3 separate regions of the Homo sapiens genome follow, and regions 2 and 3 are each linked to region 1. The links are contacts of gene promoters, found by promoter capture Hi-C in human tissues and cell types (Jung and others, 2019). All regions are on one chromosome and are shown on one strand. The core of a region is centred on a gene start or on the middle of the fragment in contact, and the rest is flanking DNA. Distances in the headings are between cores, read along the strand shown. Region 1 holds the start of KLHL12 (kelch like family member 12). Region 2 overlaps SYT2 (synaptotagmin 2). Region 3 overlaps KDM5B (lysine demethylase 5B).

Region 1 (5,061 bases), core at 1,512-4,011:
CTGGATGCCGTGGCTCACACCTGTAATGCCAGGTGTGGCCACTCTGGGAGGCCAAGGCAGGAGGATTGCTTGAGCCCAGGAGTTCAAGACCAGCGTGGGCAACATAGTGAGACCCTGTCTCTACAAATAAATAAATAAAATTAAAAACAAAAAAAGGAGAAAAATTGGAAGACAAATTTAAGAAATAGTAAAATCCAATAGCTGACATGTGTGTTTTACTACATATTACACTATTCTAAGCACTTCCTATGTTATTTCATAAAATAATCTTCACAACAACCTTAATAACCATGTGTTACATATTACTATTATCCCTAACTTAAAGATGAGGAAACTAAGGCATAGTCATCTAAGTGGTAGATCTTATCCAGAATCTGCCAAAACATCACACTGTAAAAATTCAAAATTATATCAAACTTCCACTATTTTATTCAGTGAAATTAGACAACTAGAGTTCCACGGGTTTCATTTGTGTGGGGCTAATTTACCACTTACCTCACTAGTGAACATGGCACAGAAGTAATCACTACAGGCAGCCAGCACAATCCGATGGGCAGGGAAGTCTTTCTGCTCTACTCTCAATGTCACATCACAGAGGGTATTGCTCTTCCTGAGGGAGTTCATTGAATTGAGGATGGATTTAGCATGAGTATTTGTCATTATGTCTTTGGGGGCCATAATGCCTCCCATAAAGCAGTGCGGAGAAAGAACAAAATGGGTCCTTGGATTCTGCAACTACAAGAGGGAAAAAAAAACAATGAGCATATTCAAAGAACTAGGGCAACTGAACATATTTAATTAGCTTTACAAATTAAGAACCTAAGAGGCTTCCTCAGACCCAAACATACACAAGTTGAGGGCACTCCTATGCCTGGCATCACCACCAACCACTAGCCACTATCTAGTCCATGTAAAAGCTCTCTCTTCTTCCTCTGAATTCCTCTATCACGGAGTGTCCCTACCACTTGACATTTAATATGATCAATGCTGAAATGTAAGTAGAGATAAACAATATATGTCTTGTAAATCTTGACAAGGTTCTTGTCTCAAATGATAAACCGAAAATATAAAATTTCTTAAAGGTGTTATATTATTACTATTTAATGTCCTTAAGTAGATAAGTATTTAGAGCATACATAAAAAGAGGATCCTGCTTTATATGTATGCTTTCTATCCTAGAAGTTGCACAATAAATGTTTAGAATTTAATGTAAGAAAAAGTGTGTATTCAACTTCAACTTAGAGCAAGAAAGGCCACTCAGTAAAAATAAACTTTTTTCTAAAGAAGTATCCAAATGATATGTCTGATGACTTCCAAACATATCTGGATTTCTTCTTAAAATGAAACTTCAGGCCGGGCCCAACAGCTCACTCCTGTAATCCCAGCACTTTAGGAGGCTGAGGTGGGTGATCAGTTGAGGTCAGGAGTTTGAGAGCAGCCTGGCCAACATGGTGAAACCTAGTCTCTACTAAAAATACAAAAAATAGCCAGGCGTGGTGATGCGCGCCTATAATCCTAGCTACCAAGAAGGCTGAGGCCCGAGAATCACTTGAACCCAGGAGGTGGAGGTTGCAGTGAGCCGAGATCACACCACTGCACTCCAGCCTGGGCAACAGAGCGAGACTCTGTCTCAAAAAAAAAAAAAAAAAAAGAAACTTCAATTGAGGACCCATTACCTACACTGAATAATGGAAACCACGCAAGTTATCGATGGACTTACACTTGCTTAAGATATTGAAGCTCTTCAACAAGAGGGTATTCCTACTCTACATCTGTGAATGTCCATTACTGTTAAAGAATCGATATTGGAATCCAAAACTTTCTGAAATGATCCGGGGGGAAGGAAATCAAACTGTGGTCTCCAAAAGTCCACAAGTCACAATTAATCTTTCAACAGGAAAAATGAGATCCTAAATTCTCATCTACTTCTGTTTGTAGTTGGCATTTTACTCTATAAGCACTATAGATAATTCCTCCAACAACTCTGCAAGACCCATTTTACAGAAAAGCGGGTGATTCATCAAAGCATATGTTTTTCAAAAAGACTTAAGTCAACTTAGTTGCAACTCTAGGGGTGTAAAAAGGTCTAGAACAAATGTCCATTTACTATGAAGACAGCCCGGGGGGTCTTTTATCGTTTCCGTGTCAAAATGACAGTACCCCGGTGCAGAGTGGTCTTCCTTCTAGGGGATTCCTGCCTCAACACTCCAAGTCTCAGCATATCCTTCATCCTCACCCTTCTGAAGTGACCTATTTTCTAGAACTTTCGTTAACATCTGAATGGAGGGATTCCACTTCGGGAGATTCGGGGCAGGGAATGGGTAGTAAACTCGGGAAAGACTAAATTCTAGAGAAGGAAACGAAGTCCTTCCTCCTAATACCACCAGGCATATGGCCGCCACCGCCAGGTGGAGGTATCGGAGAGGGGCAGTTCAGGGGGAGAGTTGAGAGGGTGACCGAGGCCAGATGCCCCACCCCACTGCCAGCCTTCCTCCTCTGTTGGGCATGTCTCCCATTCCGCCTTGCAGGGAGACCAAGGATGGGGGGTAGGGCCATAACCCGGAGTTGACGGACAGGAAGGGAAGGGCTGACTGCCATCACTTCCGCGCAACTCACCTCCGCTCCCGAACCCACACAGCCGCACCGGGCCCGTCCCCAGCCTGTGGGGATGGAGTGCGGCGCGGGGCTAGCAGGCGGCTCGGGAGGAGCCGAAGCGCCGCCCAGACCCGGAGGCTCTGGAGGCTCTGGAGCCGTCCGGGTCTGGCCCCTGCGGCCGCGCGACGTGATGACGCAATGCAGCTGGAGCACCGCCCTCCCCCCGCTCCAGAGTCTGCGTCACGTGAGGAGGTGGTGTCACGTGACCTGTCTGTACCCTAGCGCGGGGCTTCTGTACGCTGCTAGGAAGCCGAATTACAAAAAGGTCGGGTGGGCAGGGAATGGTGGCTCACGCCTATAATCCCGGCACTTTGGCAGGCCGAGGCGAGCGAATTACCTGAGCTCCGGAGTTCCAGACCCGCCTGGGGATCACGGCAAAACCCCGTTTCTACAAAAAAAAAAAAAAAAAAAAAATTAGCCCGCACCGCGCCTGTAGTCCCAGCTACTCGAGAGGCTGACAGGAGGATCACTTGAGCCAGGCAGCAGAGGTTGCAGTGAGCCAGGATCGCCACTGCACTCCAGCCTGGGCCACAGAATGAGACCCTGTAAAAAAAAAAAAAAAAAAAAAATGTCCAGGCGTGGTGGCTCACGCCTGTAATCCCGGCACTTTGGGAGGCCGAGGCGGGTGTATTACTTGAGGTCAGGAGTTCGAGACCAGCCTGGCCAACATGGTGAAACCCTATCTCTACTGAAAATACAAAAAAATTAGCCGGGCGTTGTGGCACGCGCCTGTAATCCCAACTACTCAGGAGGCTAATGCAGGAGAATCGCTAGAACCTGGGAGGCGGAGGTTGCTGAGCCGAGATCGCGCCATTGCACTCCGGGCTGGGCGACCGACTGAGACTCTGTCTCTTAAAAAAAAAAAAAAAAGGCCAGGCGAGGTGGCTCACGCCTGTAATCCCAGCACTTTGGGAGGCCGAGACGGGTGGATCACGAGGTCAGGAGATCGATTCTGGCTAACACGGTGAAACCCCGTCTCCACTAAAAATACAAAAAAATTGGCTGGGCGTAGTGGCGGGCGCCAGTAGTCCCAGCTACTCGGGAAGCTGAGGCAGGAGAATGGCGTGAACCCGGGAGGCGGAGGTTGCAGTGAGCTGAGATCGCGCCACTGTACTCCAGCCTGGGCGACAGAGCAAGACTCCGTCTCAAAAAAAAAAAAAAGAAAAAAGAAAAAAAAGAAAAAACAAAAAAAAGGCTGGATGTTGTGGGGTCCGGCAGGGAGCCTGGGAATGTATCTACAGCTCGGCGATTGGCTGAGCCTGAGTTCCTCCCTACCGCTCACTAGGCAGGGCAGGCAGAGAGAATTCCAACGCTTAATATGCCAAGCATCTGATTGCAGCAAGTATGTTTTACCTTCCAGGTACTGAGGAACTTTTTGACATCGAGAAAACCCACAGAGGCCTCAAATTTATTCACGTCCATTGTCCACAATGGCCTTTTCGGGCCGAACAACGCTGCGGCGAGAATCCTCTGAGCCTTAGGATCCACAGACCTCAGTATATACTCTGCATCATAATGGGCCCTGTCATCACCACTGAATTGATTCTAAGGAAATTCTAATTGATTCAGGAAATTCTAATTTATTTTGGTGCACTTAGTGACTGAAAAGGCAAAAAGCTTAATTAGTTCAGCTTATCTGAATGTCTAGACAAATTGTGTTTGGTAATACTATTATGCTCTGTGAGCCCTTTGATTCTTTTTTTTTTTTTTTTTTTTTTTTGAGACGGACTCTTGCTCTGTCGCCGAGGCTCGAGTGCACTGGCGCGATCTCAGCTCACTGCAACCTCCGCCTCCCGGGTTCAAGCAATTCTCCTGCCTCAGCCTCTCCGAGTAGCTGGGAGTACAGGTGCACACCACCACGCCCGACTAATTTTTGTGTTTTTAATAGAGACGGTGTTTCGCCATCTTGGCCGGGCTGGTCTCGAATTCCTGACCTCGTGATCCGCCCGCCTTGGCCTCCTAAAGTGCTGGGATTACAGGCGTCAGCCACAGCGCCTAGCCCTTTGATTCTTAAGGGTACTAAAACCATAGCCAAGTGGGTAGCATTCTAAATTTACAACGTGTCCCCATCTTCCATGTCATACCTTCCTGATCTAAAACTGTCCCTGACTCACACATTGTAGAGAAGAATGCAAGATTGGTATATTATTGGGGGCATTTTGGAAATATTCGTCGATTTTAATAAAATTTTCCTTCACATATACTCGTGCACATGTAAAACGATGTATGTACAAGATTGTTAACTGCAGCATTGTTTGTAGATTAGATCAACAACAACATTAAATGTCCATTAATAGGGGACTGATTCAATAAGGTATAGTACATCCATAAAATCCAATACCATGAAGCTGTGAACAATTTATATACTCTATTATTGGTGTAAAAAGGTGGAAGATATATTCATAT
Region 2 (5,061 bases), core at 1,819-4,318, 220 kb before region 1:
ATGGAATAGTAATGGGTAAATTCCGTCTCTAATTGCAATATTTCCTAATTACTAAATTCCAGAGCCACTGTATCAACCCAATTATGGCAAGTCCTGCCAGAGTTCTCCATGGTCTGAGGACTCCCTGCCTTACTGAGAGGCACCTGACAAATGCCTCGGGGGAGCTTTCCTGACTCCCCACCCAGCTGCTGTCCTCCCCTGGTCCCAGACTGTCCAGTGATGAGGCCCTTGGGCTTCTAGTTTCTCTGCAGGGGATGGGAGGAAGTGAAGCAAGCTTTGTGATTGAGGAAAGCCTTGTGTTGACAGGCGACTATCCTGGGGTTGGAGAGCATCTGGGAGCCCTGTCACTCTGCACCAGCCACCATCAATGCTCCCAGCTTCAGAACTCCACTTTGGGGGCTAGGGGGACCCAGGAGAGGAGGAGAAACAACATGCCCTGGCCTTGGGGAGCGCCCAGGCTGATAGAGGAGACACGGTTATTTTGAGTTCTCCTTTACATCCCAGGTGCCTTTTACAGAGTAGGTGCTTAGTGCATTGGAGTGGAACGTGGAGGAAAAGGCGGGAGGAAAGTAGGAAGTAAGGAAGGAATGGGGTGCTCTGGCTCAGGCTGAGTTTAGACTCTGGCTACACCTGCACGCAAGGGTTGACTTTTGGGCTGTGAGTCCCATAGGGATCTGACTTCTCAGGTCTGGAGTCTCCGAAGGAGAGAAGCAGTCACACACCCACTAACTCCCATTCTCCCTGCCTTTGCAAGGGGCCCTCCTCCCCAGCCCACCCCTAGGACCCTGAATACACACATATGCACACACACACGGCTGCTGGGCTTCAGAGGAGCCGTTTAATTGCCGAGTTGAAACCTGCAAGGGCTTTTGGTGCTGATGACATCAGCATGCCATCACAGATAGGGCTGCTGAGGCTGGAGCAGCTCTGGATTCAGCGGGGTGTCCCATCATGCACTCAAGACTGCCCACCCTGGGGCCTCCCTCCTTGCTTCAGAGCAGGTGTTCCTGAAGGAGGTGCCAGAGCCCTTATGGAGAGCCCAAGGAAACCCAACATCAGGGAGGGAGAGCTGATTCAATTCCTCCAAGGAATCACTGCCTAATTTTTGTAAAGGCTGCTGCCTGATTTAAATCACCCAGCCTCCTGCTTCTACTCAACGCGTTAGTGGCCTCATCCCAAGGACCCGCACCTGTATTCTCGGGCTCCATTTGCCATAGGTAGAGCTGGTGAGAAGCGGCGAGGAGAGGAGGAAGGGTTCTGACCACTCAGCTGCTGTGGCCTGGAAGGCCCCCTGCAAAGTGCCTATGATCTGGGGATTTTGAACAACCACACAACTTCTCTGGGGATTTTGAACCACACAACTTCTCTGGGCCTTTGCCCGTTCATTGTAAAGTGGGGACAGCGATGGCGTAGCCGAGGACTGCAGTGATGAGAGCTTGACCGCCCTTGTGAGCCGCTCTATCCCCGAGCAGGGGAGCAGGAGGCGCAGGGAGGAGCCCTGAGGTTCCCTGTTGTGCGGGACCCACACTGACTTTGCCCTTTCTTATGCCTGATGCTTAGTGTTACTGACAGCAAAAGCTGAAATCCTGAGGTCCCCGGCTAAAGTGACCAAGGAAGGGCCTCTCCTGACTTTACAGCAGCAGGTAACCCCCCTTTCTTTCAGATTTGGAGGCTGCTTGGCCATTTTAATGGACCCTGCTACTCACATCCTACTTCCCTAAGTGTGAGGGGCTTTCAGAATCTAACCTCCTCCCTGGCACTCAGCCAGCAGGGACTTTATCCTCATCAGAAAATGATCCAGGGAGGAAGCTTCTACAATATCTACTGCTCATCTTGGATTTTGGGAGTCCTTTTTTTTTTTTTGAGACCGGATCTCACTGTTTTCCAGGCTGAAGTGAAGTGGCATGACCATAGCTCACTGCAGTCTCGACCTCCTGGGCTCAGGCGATCCTCCTGCTTAACCTGGTGTGCCACCATGCCCAGCTAATTTTTAAATTTTTTGTAGAGACAGGGTCTCCATATGTTGCCCAGCCTGCTCTGGAATTCCTGGGCTCAAGCGATCCTTCTACCTCAGCCTCCCAAAGCGCTGGGATTACAGGTGTGAGCCACTGCACCTGGCCTGGGGAGTCCTTCTGGATGTTTAATTTTAGACCCAGCCTCTCTAGGGGAGGGGGCTGGCAGCTAGGTGTTCCCCTGCCCTCCAGGCTCACAGTGACTCTCAGGTCCCTCTGGGCCTGGATCCAAATTTACCCATCACTCTGGCTACTTCCTTGAACTGTCAGTTCCAGAGATGAAAATGAAGGATTGCTGGGACAAATCCTTCCCAGAAATCAAGCTTTGGCAAGAAAAGACTCATTAGGCATAAAAACCGTCTTCGAGTGAGGGGGATGAAATGCAGGACTGACCACCAAGACGGTGAGGGCAACTCCTTCCCTTGAGTTTTAAGAATATCAAAGGTGGACAGTGCTCCCTGCAGCTGGAGAACCCAAGACAGTGTTGTGTGTGTGGGCAGGAAAAGGAGCACGCAGGCCACCCAAGGATGAAAAGCACTTACTCCTCCCGCGCCAGGCACTGTTCTACACGCTTTACAGGAATTAACCCATTTCATCCTCACCAAGAACAATCTACGTCATAGTTACAAATTTTAGCTCCATTCTACAGATGGCAAGACTAAAAAACAGAGTGTGATTGACTCGCCCAAAATCACAGCAAGTGGCAGAACCAGGATGAACCCTGGCAATCTGGCTGTAGTCACTATACTGCCACTTAGAAAAAAATCTCTGACTTGATGTTTCTCCAATGAAACTATATTATTTATCACAGGCTTCTGGAGTCCAGGAGAAGCCATAACTGAATCCCAGCTTCTCTGGCCTGGCTTCTCTGACTGAGTGGAAGATGAAGAATCAACTTGTTGCCTATGGATGGATTATTCACGTAGGGAATTTAGAACTGCATCTGTCTGGTGGTCCAGGGGCTACTTCTAAAATAACACGAATAGTTATCAGTTCTACAATACTACCCTGAGAGTTAAGCATTATTACCTCTGTTCTTTAGAGAAAACTGTGCAGACATTGTCAGATCATCCTGTTACATGCTCTCGAAGCTTCCTACATACCTTCATAACTCTTGGCACAGTCATGATGAATTCTTTATGTAATTATCTAATTGTGTGGTATTCACTAGATTGTAAATGCCACGAGGGCAGGAAACAGGTCTGTTTTGTTCCCACCTGAATCTCCATTGCCTAGCACAGATTCTCAAAATGCAATAGTGGAACGAATGCAGAAGGGATGCTGAGTGGCTCAGTAACATGTGTAGGGCCTGCGGCTGTGCTCACCTCCCCACCCAGAGAGACTACAATAGTGGCACATGGTAGGTACTCACTAATAAAATACTTGTTGCAAATGTCAGACTTTGTACTTAGCAGCCCTGGGATTTGAACCCAGGCCTGTCTATCTCCTAGCCTCCATTCTTTGGTGCTTCATATTTAACCACTGCACTGAGTGACCCTGCCCCCCCATTACTCCCTCTGACTTGCTGTTCCAGTTCTTAAAGAGTATCCCCACCACCCTGGACCTTCAGTGGTGGGGATACTCTGGCTTCAGCTAGGACCTGCCTAGACTGGGGAAGTCCACAGAGCAAATCCCAAAGCCAAGTGAAGTAGTGTTTCTACTCATCTGCAGCCTTAAGTCCTCCACGAGGATGCTTCTGTCCAGGGAAGGGAATGATGGTCATTCTTCCAGGCAAATGAAGCCCAACCTCCTCCCACTCTGTCCTCACTGCCTTCTGTCCCCCTGCTTCCAGTGCACTCACTGCCCCTCTATCTACTCTCCCCTGAGAGGGCGGCACAGGCCTGGCGGGGAAGAAAAAGGAGACCCCATTGAGATATGATAATGTTCAGATGGAGGCAGAAAGAATGACTAGAGGTCAGGCTTGCCTAGGGGCTGGGGAACACTGGGGTAGCCTGGTCCCCAGGGCTTGAGAAGGGCAAGGAAGAGGCTTCTCCAGCCACCTCCAAAGCCCACCCCCAGGTCTCTGCAGTATCATAGACAGCCCTGTCACACCTGCCTGGAAGCTGCCTAAGGGTAGAAGGAATAAAACGAGCTCCAGCTGCAATGTGAGGGCAGGTGAGCCCAGACCCAGCTCCAGAAAGGGTCTCCTCGGCCCTGCGAGGTCTTCAGCAAGGTACATGCTTTGCCCAGGTGAAACCAGCTTCAGTCCTAAATTGAAGCCAGTTGCAAGCTTCTCTAGGTGAAAAGTCAATGTTTACGAACACCAACACTTTTTGCTTCCCCTGGTCCTGTTCTGCGGATGTCAGACCCCAAAGCTGAAAAAGAAATGTTCCTGCATAATCACCCCCTTCCCCCAAAAGAAAACCCAAGTTCCCTGGACCAAGCTCCTGGACTGCAGAACAAAGCAGACTCCCAGCAGAGTGGTCTGGTCTCTCTTCCTCCAGGGAATGGTGGGCCAGGTCTATGTGAGGCTATAACCTAGAAACTTTCCTCTGCCTCCCTCTCCTCCTCCTTTGGCAAGACAAGGAGGGGAGAAGGTAAGGATTAAGCCCAAAAGATCTCCAGAAAAAGCCAAGCCTCTGGGGGGAGTCCTAGAGGGTGAAGCCAGGGATCTGCCTGGCAGCCAAGCAGAGCAGAGGCAGCCACCCTGAGGGAAAGGTGGTTCAGTCGGGGTTCAGTGGGCACTGGCCATTTTCCAGGGGCATGGGAGGAGATGGGTTGGAGTTGGACTCCCTAGGCTGCAGTGTGCCTGGCGTGGACCCCTGACGCTGACTCACCCCCAGGGCCCTGACACACGCTGCAGCTTGCAGTGCCTGCCAGACCACCACTCTCATTCCACAGGACCAGGATGCCAGGCACGTCCCACTGCATCAGAGCCACCCTGCCCCCTTCCACCTGCCACTCGGGCCCGCCTTTGGGGCACTGGGCATGGCTTTTTTCAGCACCTCTGCTGGTCACAGAGATGTTTCTAGCAGCCCCAAAGCTGGACTTAGTCTTAAGTAGGGAGAGATGGTTGAAAGGATTAAGGGCTTCCCTGCTTCTGTCACCC
Region 3 (5,061 bases), core at 1,122-3,621, 180 kb before region 1:
CTCTACAAAATTAAAGAACTTAGCCAGCCATGGTGGCACACAACTGTAGTCCCAACTATTTGACAAACTAAAGCAGGAGGATTACTTAAACCCAGGATTTCAAGGCTGCGGTGAGCCACGACCATGCCACTGCACTCCAGTTGAGATGACAGAGCAAGACCTTGTCTCAAAAAAAAAAAAAAAAAAAAAAAAAAAACACCTGGCATGTTTAAAATAGACAAAAAGAAGAAAACAACTGACTTATGAAAGCAAAGTAAATATAAATCTTATTGTGGCTTGAACCACTTCTTCCTCCTGCATTTTATTCTGCAGTTAGTGAGTAACTAGTGTGCTCAGTTACTAGAGCACAGGAGACTCAGAGACAATGATATTGCTCCTTTCCCCTAAATAAAAGCGGGTGGAGTTACGTGTTGGGCTACAGAAATGGAAGCAAGTGAAAACACTCTGAAAGAGAAATGGACTGGTACAAAAACAGACACACAGACTAACAGAACAGAATAGAGAACCCAGAAATAAAAAGGCACACCTACAACTATCTGATCTTCAACTAATCTAACAAAAACAAGCAATGGAGAAAGGATTCCCTATTCAATAAATGGTGCTGGAATAACAGCTAGCCATATGCAGAAGATTAAAACTGGACCCCTTCCTTACACCATATACAAAAATTAACTCAAGAGGAATGAAAGACTTAAATGTAAAACCCAAAAATATAAAAACCCTGGATGACAACCTAGGCAATACCTGTCAGGACATAGGCACAGGCAAAGATTTCATGAAGATGCCAAAAGCAACTTCAACAAAAGCAAAAACTGACAAATGGGATCTAATTAAAGAGCTTCTGCACAGCAAAAGAAACTATCATCAGAGTGAATAGACAACCTACAGAATGGGAGAAAATACTTGCAAACTGTGCATCTGACAAAGGTCTAATATCCAGCATATATAAGGAACTTAAAACAAATTTACAAGAAAAAAACATTAAAAAGTAGGCAAAGGATATGAAAAGATACTTTTCAAAAGAAGACATACGTATGGCCAACAATCATATGAAAAAAAGCTCAACATCACTGATCATTAGAGAAATGCAAATCAAAACTACAATGAAAGGCCGGGCGCAGTGGCTCACGCCTGTAATCCCAGTACTTTGGGAGGCCGAGGCAGGCAGATCACAAGGTCAGGAGTTCAAGGCCAGCCTGACTAACATGGTGAAATCCTGTCTCTACTAAAAATACAAAAATTAGCTGGGCATGTTGGCACGTGCCTGTAGTCCCAGCTACACAGGAGGCTGAGGCAGGAGAATTGCTTGAACCCAGGAGGTGGAGGTTGCAGTGAGCCGAGATCGCACCACTGCACTCCAGTCTGGGTGACAGAGCAAGACTCCGTCTCAAAACAAAAACAAAAACAAACAAAAAAAACACCACAATGAGATATCACCTCATACCAGTCAGAATGGCTATTATTAAAAAGTCAAAAAGTAACATGCTGGCAAGGTTGTGGAGAAAAGGGAACGCATATACACTGTTGGTAGAAGTGTAAATTAGTTCAACGATTGTGGAAGACAGTGTGGTGATTCTTCAAAGATCTAAAGACTGAAATACCATTTGACCGAGCAATGCCATTACTGGGTATATACCCAAAGGAATATACATCATTCCATTTATAAAGACACATGCATGTGTATGTTCACTGCAACACTATTCACAATAGCAAAGACATAGAATCAACCTAAATACCCATCAATGATAGACTGGATAAAGAAAAATGTGGTACATATACACCATGGAATACTATGCAGCCATAAAAAAGAATGAGCTCGTGTCCTTTGCAGGAACATGGATGGAACTGGAGGCAATTAGTTAGCAAACTAACACTAGGAACAGGAAAGCAAATACTGCATATTCTCACTTATTAAGTGGGAGCTAAATGATGAAAACACATGGATGCATACAGGGGAGTAACACGTGAACACATACAGGGGAACAACACACAATGGAGCCTATTGGAGGGTGGAGGGCAGGAGGAGGGAGAGGCTCCAGAAAAATAACTAATGGGTACTAAGCTTAATACCTGGATGATGAAATAATCTGTACAACAAACGCCCATGACACAAGTTTATCTATGTAACAAGCTTGCACATATACCCCTGAGGTGAAAAGTAAAAAGCAAAAAACAAACTATATTTTCATAAGAAAAAAGAGAGAGAGAGATATAAAGGGTAGCAGTGACTTTCAAAGGTAATGACAAGTGCCAGGGACCTTAACTTTAATTAGAACTAAGAAGTGATAAACTACCATTTCAGAGACTCCTGATTTAGTGTCATGCTGCCTTTGTCACAAGATGCTTTGTTTTTGTTTTTGTTTTTTTAAAGATTTCAACATCTTTGTAAGAAATGTGAAATTTTTATTTCTGAGACAAAAATAAAGGTTTCCTAACAATATCGTTTTTGTTAAGTAAGTGATGTTGCACAACTCATATAACAAAATTTCACTGGGATGTAAGGGCAACTGCCTTATCCACTCTTGGTTTTAAAACCTTCTCTGCCGGTGCTCTGTAAACCGGGCTATGTAGAGGGGCTAACCAAGGATGAGGTCAGGCTGTTTCAAGAAATGTTTTGTTGACTTTAATTTGGCTACATCACAATAAGCCCCAATTTGCCAATCACCAAGTCACTTTCTGTATCACATACTTTTCTTCTTGTTGATCTTTGCCTCCAAAGCTTCATTCACATTCAAGGCCCATTCGTTGTAAGATTCTGCTCGAAGCTTCAATGCATTCATCATAGGGTAGAGATCATCCAGCGTGTACCTATACCTGGAAATAATACCACCACACTTAGCTTTGAGACGTGTAGCTTTGGAGAAAACTAGATGTTTTATACTTAACATTTCAGCCCTAGAACTGCGGTATCATTGAGCTTTTAGTAAGGATCAACTGTTTTCCATAGGAAAAAAAATCGTTCTTCCTACTTACCGCAATTTATATTTGTAAGGAGGACAGGAACACAATTCTTTTACATGATGCAGGCAAACAAGAAGGCCAGGTTTACAAGAACAGGAGATGGCAGACATGAAGCATGTAGTTTTGCATTTTACACACTGACGTTCATCATCTGGCAACAGCTCAAAATCCATTCTTTCCGAATCAATCACTCCCTAGAATAAAGTATACTTTAGAGAGACCTCCAAAGGATAATATAATCCACCAGCCCAAGACAAACATGCAGTAGTACTTGAGTCTGAAAAAAAAAAAAAAGCTTTACCAAAATAGGGATGCATGATTAAAAATGTGTGGCATACAAAGAAACAAATGACCTAGCAAATACAGGCAAGTTCATTTGTCTAGGGAGATCTCCTTTTTCAGACAAGGCAGGTCCTTATGTTTGGTCATTTTGATCTGAGTATGAACACCATAGGACTGTAAAACTACTGAGATTAGTTATCTGTTCTACTACAAATTAGCCTTGTCCACATTTTGGGTATAGATAAGAGGTATAGATAAGATTAAAAGAAAGGAATATGTTTCCTACTTCTGAGGAAATATGGAGAATCTATTAAAAGGACAAAAATAAAAGGAAAGAAGATGGGACGAGTGGAAAAGACTATCGTGCAGAAATTGAGTTTGGGAAGATGCTGAGTGGTCTCTCAGCCTTTTACAGGAAGTTATATGAAAGGATATCATTAACTGAATAGTTAGAAAATTTGTGCAATAGCAAAGACTAAAGTCATAATTAAACATTTCCTCCTAAAAGACTGTCAGGAAAAATAAGGTCTTGAACCAGTAAATTTCAACATAATCTGTACCACCTAACATCTAGAGAACCCTTCTTGGATACACCTTTTGTCATTTAAAGACCAAACTTCTATCACCTTTTCTCCCTATCTAAAACTGGATCCTAATCCAGCCTTGAGAATGCCAGTCGTTTATGAACTACTGGGCTTCTTTCTTTTATTCTGTTATCCTGTATTTTAACCTTTTAACTATTTCATATCTGCCAATTATATGGGCCAACAAAGATGAGGAAGGTAAGGAAAATGCTAATTAGATTTTGGTTTTATTCTTGAATTGGTCATTAAAAAGGACTTCATGGGATGGAGAAAGTTAACATTTTTGTTTAAAATAAGATTAAGGACCAACTCCATGGATTTTAATTGAGAATCAATCATGTAGTTCATACCTAATTTTAATTTGTAAATTCCATATATGGAAAAAGTCTCAGAGTTCTAAAAATGAGCTACCATTTTTGATGTAAGACTTTGGTAAGTTACTTAAACCCTCTGGGCACTATTTTCCCCCAACTGTAAAATATAAGAGGGTAAGGTAGGTAACCTGCTGTTAAAATGTAAATGGGCTGCAGAGAGCCAATATTCCAGGATTCTACCCAAAAAGGCACATATTTTTAAAAAAAAAAAAAAAAACAGTATTACTATTTGCAGATATTATTATTCTAAAAGAATCCATGAAAAAGCTACTGGGAATTAAGTGACTTTAGCAAGGTCTCAGGAGACAAGGTCAATATACAAGTCAATTGTCTCTCTAAATACTAGCAATAAACAATTAGAAATTCAGTTTTTAAAAGTACAATTTATAATAGTGCCAAAAAACATGCAATATAAAATTATACTATGTTCATGAATTGGAAGACTCAATATTATTAAGATATCAATTCTCCCCCAAACTATCCATAGTTTCATGCAGTCTCAATCAAAATTCCAACAGGAATTGATTTGGTAGAAATCAATAAGCTGATTCTAAAATGTACATTAAAAAAAGTAAAAGAGATAAAACAATTTTTTAAAAAAAACAAAGTTAGAAGACTCATACTACCTGATTTCAAGACTTCTTAGAAAGCTACAATAATCAAGACCATTTAGTATTAGCAATAGAATAGATGCATAGATCACCAGAACACAAGAGTCCAGAAATAGACCCATACTTATGTGGTGAATTGATTTTCAACAAAGGTGCCAAAGCAATTTAATGAAGAAAAGATAGTCTTTTCAAGAAATGCTGCTGGAAGAACTAGATATCCACATGCAAAAAAATGAACCTTGACTCATA

What was found. The method cuts DNA at HindIII sites, captures the fragments that hold promoters and counts their contacts. A contact is called where the count stands out against the background at its distance.
Region 2: a contact is called between a fragment that was not itself captured here and the fragment with the promoter of KLHL12 in region 1, in 2 of the 25 tissues and cell types used here (aorta and mesendoderm cells).
Region 3: a fragment that was not itself captured here is called in contact with the fragment with the promoter of KLHL12 in region 1 in 2 of the 25 tissues and cell types used here (IMR-90 fibroblasts and aorta).

Annotation. Positions count from the first base shown.
Region 1 is chr1:202,924,473-202,929,533 of GRCh38, forward strand. KLHL12 (kelch like family member 12) reads right to left here and starts at 2,762. Exons shown (of 12, transcript NM_021633.4): 1 at 2,617-2,762; 2 at 496-735. The coding sequence starts at 690. RefSeq lists enhancers at 2,905-2,954, 4,031-4,532, 4,533-5,032. The HindIII fragment of the contact is 17,641 bases long and covers 1-5,061 here.
Region 2 is chr1:202,703,873-202,708,933 of GRCh38, forward strand. All of the region lies in intron 1 of SYT2 (synaptotagmin 2), which reads right to left. Among named protein-coding and RNA genes, the nearest start is that of SYT2, 4.1 kb to the right of the region's middle. The HindIII fragment of the contact is 4,055 bases long and covers 1,042-5,061 here.
Region 3 is chr1:202,743,169-202,748,229 of GRCh38, forward strand. KDM5B (lysine demethylase 5B) reads right to left here. Exons shown (of 27, transcript NM_006618.5): 15 at 2,974-3,155; 16 at 2,690-2,814. Among named protein-coding and RNA genes, the nearest start is that of SYT2, 35 kb to the left of the region's middle. The HindIII fragment of the contact is 4,315 bases long and covers 215-4,529 here.